2 separate regions of the Homo sapiens genome follow, and region 2 is linked to region 1. Evidence: promoter capture Hi-C in human tissues and cell types (Jung and others, 2019). All regions are on one chromosome and are shown on one strand. The core of a region is centred on a gene start or on the middle of the fragment in contact, and the rest is flanking DNA. Distances in the headings are between cores, read along the strand shown. Region 1 holds the start of ANKRD9 (ankyrin repeat domain 9). Region 2 overlaps TRAF3 (TNF receptor associated factor 3).

Region 1 (3,634 bases), core at 919-3,418:
ACCTGGGAAGTGGAGGTTGCAGGGAGCTGAGATTGCACCACTGCACTCCAGTCTGGGTGACAGAATGAGACTTTGTCTTGGGAAAAAAAAAAACCCTCTGGGATCCCCAGTGAGGAGGGCAGGTCAGGGCACGGGGGCAGGGAAGACATCAAGGGGTGGAGAGAGACCCGCCCTGAGGCCCAGTGCACAGCCTGGCATCCACTGGTGCCCTTTCACCCTCATTCCACCAGTAGCCATGGAGACGGCTGTATCTCAACTCCAGCCTTCGAAGAGGGCAAGAGAGCAGGGGAGCCTTGAGCCACAGACAGCCCACATGGGCACCATCTCCCCAAGATGTCCCCCAGGGTTTGGGCTCCCAAAGGCCGATTGTTGACTCCAGGACCTTCACTCACTTTGCTCTCCCCACCATCGTACTCAGAGGCATCCAGAACCGGCAGATGGGAGAAGCCCTAGGGAGATAGGCCTAGATACAGGAGGAGACATGTGGAGCTGAGGCAAAGGCGGGTGCGGATGCCAGGCCCAGTGCCCTCTATACCCCTACTCCTGCTGACAACCTGGCTGCTGTAAGCTTGGCAGTTGCCATGGACTCCCTGGGAGAGATGGCGTGGCCTGGAACGTCCCCCGCCCTGAGGTGGGGCAGGGCTGGTGGGGTCTGGTCATCCCCCTGGTGGGTCCATGCATGGCAGCCTGGGCAGGATACATGTGAGTGCCTACCTGGGCTGGGGTGGCCTGACCCTCTCTGGGCCTCACAGCTTTGTCTGCCTCATGGTACTGTCCACCTGGCCTCTCAGGACTGCTCTGTGGCGTGTGTGCTTAAGGGATTGAGCTCGTTGGGCTGGGGACAGAGGCCTGCCTAGGTCTGTTGAGAGGGCCCAGGTAAGACTTCCACCCAGACTGACTGGCTGGGGCACACAGAGAAGCCAGGACAGGGCTGATTGTGTGTGCAGGGGCGTGCCCTCTGGACGAGGCCCCTCCCACCGGGGCGAGGCAGAGGCCTTGCTTGGTTGGAGCGGAGTGGGGGAGTGGGAGGGTCTCCCTGGTGAGATAGTACTGGAAGGGCAGGGACAGCATTCTAGGGAAGGAACCAGAAAGAGCCCCTGCATGGAATGTGGGGATTTCACCATGAGACCCCGGCTGCCTGGCCTCTGAGAACGTGTGTGGGGGGATTCCAGGTGGAAGGTCGTGTCTGGGAGGATGGGTGGGGGGTTGAGCAGTCATTGCCCCTCTCCAGATCTGCGTCCACATCTGTAAAATGGGCCTAGAATTCCCAGCCGCTGGGGGCGAGTGAGGCCATAAATTAGTTGAGATGGACCCAGGCTCCTAAGCCCCCTAGGTCATGACCCCAAACCTTGGAACCCCCGACGGAGACGGTGGGGGTGGCCGAGGCCCAATCGAATCTATCCCGCCCAGATGTGGGAAGAACCGCAGGGCAAACCCCCGGCTTCCCTCCTGGCCGCTCCTCTCTTTGAGGCCACCTCTCTGAGCCCTGATTTGCTGGCGGGTGAACTGGGGATCATCGTGTCCACTGTGGCTGGTGGTCGTGAAACGAAGTGGAAACATGAGTGTTGAGGCCGAGATGGGCGCAGTGCGCGCTCCTAAACAGCTGTCCCCATCCGTCCGCCCCTCCCTCCCTTGCGCGGGTCAGCTGGAGCGGGGGCGCGCCAGGCACGACCCTGGCCGGGCAGAAGGCGGTGGAGCCCTTAGGGGTCGCGGCTCCTACCCCCGGCCCTCCCATGTGCAGATGGGGTAGCAGCCTGGAGGTTTTTCCCAAGGTCACGTAAGGTCAAAGAAAAGGGGAGCTGGACGCGACGAGGAAAGTCACGCACGGCGGAGGGCGGGCCACCTACGCGCGCGCCCGAGTTCGCAGAGCAGCGGCGCCCTCCCGGGCTAGGGCAGCTCGGAGCTCGGAGCCTTTCTTCGCCCGCAGCTCGGGTTCCGGGAGCCCCGCCCCCGCCCATCAACGCCCCGCCCCTTTCGCCACGGCCCCGCCCCTCCTCTCCGTTCTCCCCGCCGGCGCTCCCTCAAGTTTCTCCGAAGTTTTCCGCGGGTCCAGCGGTGCGCCCCGCCCGCCGGCCAGTGACGTAACAATGGTGCAGCGCGGCGGCCAATGGGTGGTGGCGGGGGCCGGCGGCGCGGGCCAATGGCGGCGGCGGACGGTCCCGCTGTCCTGCCTGGCCGGGGCCGCACTGCGCCGCCCGCCGCCCGCCGCCCGCCGCCCGCCGCCGGCGACGGCACCGCCGCCCTGCGATCCGGCCGCGGCGGCTCAGAGCGCGGCTGCGGCGGGCGCGGGCGGCGGTGGCTCCCTCCCGTGCGTCCGTCGTGGGACCTTTGCCCGCTCGCCCGCGGGGGACAGCGCGCGCTCCGGTCCGCGGCAGGGGCGGGGACGCCCGGCCTGTGGCCCCCGCGCCCCCCATGGTGAGTCCCCGTCCCCCGCGCCGCGCCCGCGGCCGCCGCCCCCTCCTCCTCCGGCACACGCGCACGCAGGTGCAGCCCTCGCTGCGCCGGCCACCTGCGCGCGGACGCCCCGCTCGGCCCCGCGACCCTCCGCCGCCCGACGTCTGGCCGTGCAGGCCGGGAGGGGACGGGTAGGAGGTGGCGGGTGGCCCCGGGCGCGGCGCTGCCTTCGATGGCCCAACCCCCTTATTCACGAGCCGCGGCCGTGACTCTGCCCGGTGACGTGGGGAGGCCGAACTTTACGTAACCCGCCCGGCGCCCCACGCGTGCCGGCACAGGGCATATCTGGGGCCCGGAGGCCCAGGCTTGGGGAAGGGGCTCCAGTCACGGTGTTGCCCACGGGCCACAGCCTACCCGCACCGCGCCGCTCTCTTTAACTCAGTTACTGCCAGTGATAGTGACCCAGTCAGTGTGTGTGGACGCGGCCTGCCTTCTGTCCCAGGCCCCTTGTGACCAAGGGCTTACCCTTGAAAGAAGGCAGTAGGGAGGTTGGGACGGAGCCAGAGGTCAGACGCCTAGGCTCAGGTCGGGGCTGGGGACTCAGAGGGCAGGGTCAGGGCCTAAGCTCGATTGCCTGTGGGTTGGGGGTCCCCACCAATTCTGGAATGAGCCCAAACTGAGACGCAGGGGACCTGAGTTCTAGGCCTGGCTCTGCCGTGGCTTGCTGACCTTGGAGAATTGGAGAAGCTTGTGCCCTGCTGGAAAGTGGGATGGCAGTACCCGCTTCATCTAGTAGTCGGGGAGATCAAGAGAGGTATGGGACCTGAAGAGGATGGCAGACTGTGCAGTGCGGTGCACACCGGTCTCCAGGTTGTTTTCACCCTCCTATCTCCTCCCAGGAGCTAACGTGTAAGCAAACATGTTTGGATAGAGGGCTGGTGCCACGCCCCAGGCTCACCCCGCCCGCACAGCCGTCGTCCACCCCTCCCCTTTCTTACAGATAAAGCTGAGGCTCGGCCAGGGACTGTGATATACCCACATCCCCGGAACTAGGTGATCGCGGTGCAGGAACCAGGTAGGTCTGAGTCTGGATCATGCCTCTGAACAGCCCAGGAAGAGGCTCCAGGGGCCTCCAAGTGGTCTGGGGTCGGAGATCAGGGTCAGGGTTGCGCTTGGGCTGGAGAGTGGATTTGCCTCAGCTTGAGATGTGGGCCCAAGCTTTCTCATCCCCTCCCTGGCC
Region 2 (3,352 bases), core at 777-3,276, 280 kb before region 1:
AAAAGAAAAAGGAAAGGAAAACCATTTTCTGCTATGGAAAAAAAAAAAAAGCAAGGCAAGTGACCACAGCAACAGCATGGGCTGTTTAATTAGGGTGTTCAGAAGACCCCTTTGAAGAGGTAAAATGTGAACAGAGGCCTGAATAAATCGAAGTGTTGTTGTTGTTTTTGTTGTTGTTTGAGACAGTCTCACTGTCACCCAGGCTGCAGTGCAGTAGCGCCATCTCGGCTCACTGCAACCTCCACCTCCCGAATTCAAGCGATTCTCCTGCCTCAGCCTCCCAGGTTGCTGGGACTACAGGCATGTGCCACCACACCCAGCTAATTTTTTTTTTTTTTTTTTGGTTTAGTAGAGATGGGGTTTTACCATGTTGGCCAGGCTGGTCTCGAACTCCTGACCTCAAGTGATTCGCCCACCTCAGCCACCCAAAGTGTTGGGATTACAGGCGTGAGCCACCACGCCCAGCCCAAATTGAAGAATATTATTATTGCTAAATAACAGAAAAAAAAGTGCTAAAATACGAATTTAAATATATAAAAATTCATATGTTAAAATTGCTTTTTAAAAAGGGAGATATCTATAGATGTTCCTTTTGTGCAAATATACTGTGATTTCAGTTTCTAGACATTTTACCCTTTTTATAAATAATTTATTTGCAGTCCAATAATGTCCTTCTACTCCCACCGGTATTTCTTCCAGGGACAGGCCATACTTCCAAGACAGCCTGTCATCCACATTGCTAATAAGTCATTCCCTTTATCAAACCACTCAGGAAAGGAAAGGGGAAGAGAAATGATCACTTCTGAAATATTAGGTTCTTATATTCTCTCACATGCTCTGATTTTTCTTGTTCTTGTTTTGAGACAGGATCTCACTGAGTCACCCAGGCTAAAGTGCGGAAGTATGGTGACACAGTAACACCTCACTGTAGCCTCGACCTCCTGGGCTCAAGCACTCCTCCCGCATCAGCCTCCTGAGTAGTTAGATGGGACTACAGGAGCACGCCACCAGACCCAGCTAATTTTTAAATTTTTTGTAGAGACAAGGTCTTATAACACTATGTTGCCCAGGTTGGTTGAGAACTCCTGGATTCAAGCGATCCCCCCGCCTCATCCTCTCAAAGTGCTGGGACTATAGGTATGAGCCACTGCACCTGGCACAGGCTCGTTTTTTTTTTAGACAGTTTTACTCTTGTTGCCCAGGGTGGAGTGCAATGGCACGATCTTGGCTCACTGCAACCTCTGCCTCCCGGGTTCAAGCAATTATCCTGCTTCAACATCCCAAGTAGCTGGAATTACAGGCATGTGCCACCACGCCCGGCTAATTTTGTATTTTTAGGTGAGATGGGTTTTCACTATGCTGTTCAGGCTGGTCTCGAACTCATGACCTCAGGTGATCCACCCACCTCGGCTTCCCAATGTGCTGGGATTACAAGCATGAACCTCCGCACCCAGCCCAGGCTCACTTTTAAGTCTCACAATTACTTTTTTATTATGGTAAATTACACATAAAATTTATCATTGTAATCATTTTAAGTGTATAGTCCAGTGGTATTAAATACATTCATAATGTTGTGCGACCATCACCACCATCCATCTCCAGAGGGAGAATTTAGGTTTCAGAGGCTTTTCCACGTGACTGTGAACTCTACAGTTACCTTTGCATAGATGAGAAAACTGAGGCTTAGAAAGGAAGAGTAATTTAACAGCATAGTTAGCTGAAGGACAGACCAGAATTCAAAGCAGGTCTAATTCCTTCCATACATAAACTGATCTCCTTTTTACTGTGTACATCATAGACCAGACTGCAGAAATAGAAAGAATGAAGTGAGCCAACCCTTGAGAAGCTTGTCGTCTCAACCCTAGAGACCTATCCCAGATGCACAGAAATATCCTTCAACCTGGAGAAGGCAGGGAAGGCTCTCACGCCACCACCTCCACCCAACAAGGGCCAACTTAGGTCTAAGAACAAAGAAATCTACCCTCTGTCATCCCAAGGACCTGACCTAGTGGCCTCAGTGTCTGGCTGCATTCCGTTATTCACAGCCCTTCCTGGAGCAGGTACAAATGGCCATGAAACAAGCCCCTACATCTCTGCTCAGCCACCACTGACCCCTCCTGGTTGCACGTTCAAAACCTTGACAGTGGTTCTCACAGAAGAGCTAAAGTATTCTCCAAAATAGCCAAACATCATTTCCCTGCTAACAGTGGTAAGGGCTTCCATGCCTTTAACTCATATTTCCACAGGCAATCTGCAGTTATAATTAAATTCAAGATGAATAGGTACTAGCCTGCAACCATTATGCTCTCTGCAGAGTGACCAGGCCTTGGGGACTTGTTCATCACTAACAAGCTAATGTTTGTAAAACCCTGTAAGACACAATGACTAAATACTATCATTATTACTAGACTACCAGTTTAAATGTAAATTAAGAGAGAAAGGAGAAAGAAAACACATTAGCAAATCAGGTTAGGGACTGTTACTCAGCAAGCTGTAAGAAGCATCTGAGCCACTGCGTAAAGAACCTCCCATCCAAATGTGTCAAAGGAGAGTGAATCCGAGGAGGCTGCTGTAAGAAAGGAACTTACGCCAGAGATGGAACGGAGTGCGGCCTAGAGTATCAGCCATATAGGCAAAACAGATGTTGGATGGAAGGGAAAGGCTGCATGAAAAATACACAATTTGTTTAAAAAGCACTCTACAGCAGCAAAACTAAGTCTACTCTGAAAGCAAAACTAAGAAGTTTAGAATCTGAAGAAAATCTAAAACTGCACTGTAATTCAGCTGTGGTGAAACCATGAACTCTGGGGTCCAACAGGCCTGTTGCTCTTCCTTTTCCTCATCTGCAAAATGGGGAGAATTCCTGCCTCAGAAGTTAGGCTGTCACAAAGGCAGCACCCAGAAGTGGCCGGGTGCCTTTTCCTGTACCCTCTCCCCTGAAGGACAGCCACAGGAGAACCCCTTCCGACTCACGGGCCCTCTGCCAGGCGACTCCCTGCCAGCCCAGGCTTCCCCACTCCTGCTGCTAGCTTCCCTAAGAGTTACCTCCTTGGGAAACGCCTCCTCCTAACCCAGGTTGAAACTGCACAGCGCCTCCACAATGCACCAGAGCCTCTGTTCCACTGTTGTGGCACCTACTACATGGTGCCATAATGAAATTATTCTTCTGGCTCATTCATCACATGGAAGCTCCTTGAAAACAGAGATCAGACGGCATCCTATCTGACTTTTTAGCTTTAGCAACGAGCATAGCCCCTAGCACTTAGAAAGTTCTCAAAGAAAGTGTGGGTGATTCAATAATTCTCAATTGACCCTAGCTGGAATCAGAAGCCAAGCATCAGAGGGGCCCAGT

Evidence for each region. The method cuts DNA at HindIII sites, captures the fragments that hold promoters and counts their contacts. A contact is called where the count stands out against the background at its distance.
Region 2: a fragment that was not itself captured here is called in contact with the fragment with the promoter of ANKRD9 in region 1 in 1 of the 25 tissues and cell types used here (dorsolateral prefrontal cortex).

The regions. Positions count from the first base shown.
Region 1 is chr14:102,508,310-102,511,943 of GRCh38, reverse strand. It overlaps ANKRD9 (ankyrin repeat domain 9), which reads left to right and starts at 2,168. Exons shown (of 4, transcript NM_152326.4): 1 at 2,168-2,415; 2 at 3,098-3,303; 3 at 3,395-3,469. LOC105370679 (a long non-coding RNA gene) reads right to left here and starts at 1,901. Exons shown (of 4, transcript XR_007064352.1): 1 at 393-1,901. RefSeq lists enhancers at 161-804, 805-1,450, 1,451-2,094 and silencers at 1,575-1,624, 1,785-2,224, 3,219-3,380. The HindIII fragment of the contact is 3,197 bases long and covers 181-3,377 here.
Region 2 is chr14:102,784,510-102,787,861 of GRCh38, reverse strand. All of the region lies in intron 1 of TRAF3 (TNF receptor associated factor 3), which reads right to left. Among named protein-coding and RNA genes, the nearest start is that of TRAF3, 8.7 kb to the right of the region's middle. The HindIII fragment of the contact is 5,113 bases long and covers 1-3,352 here.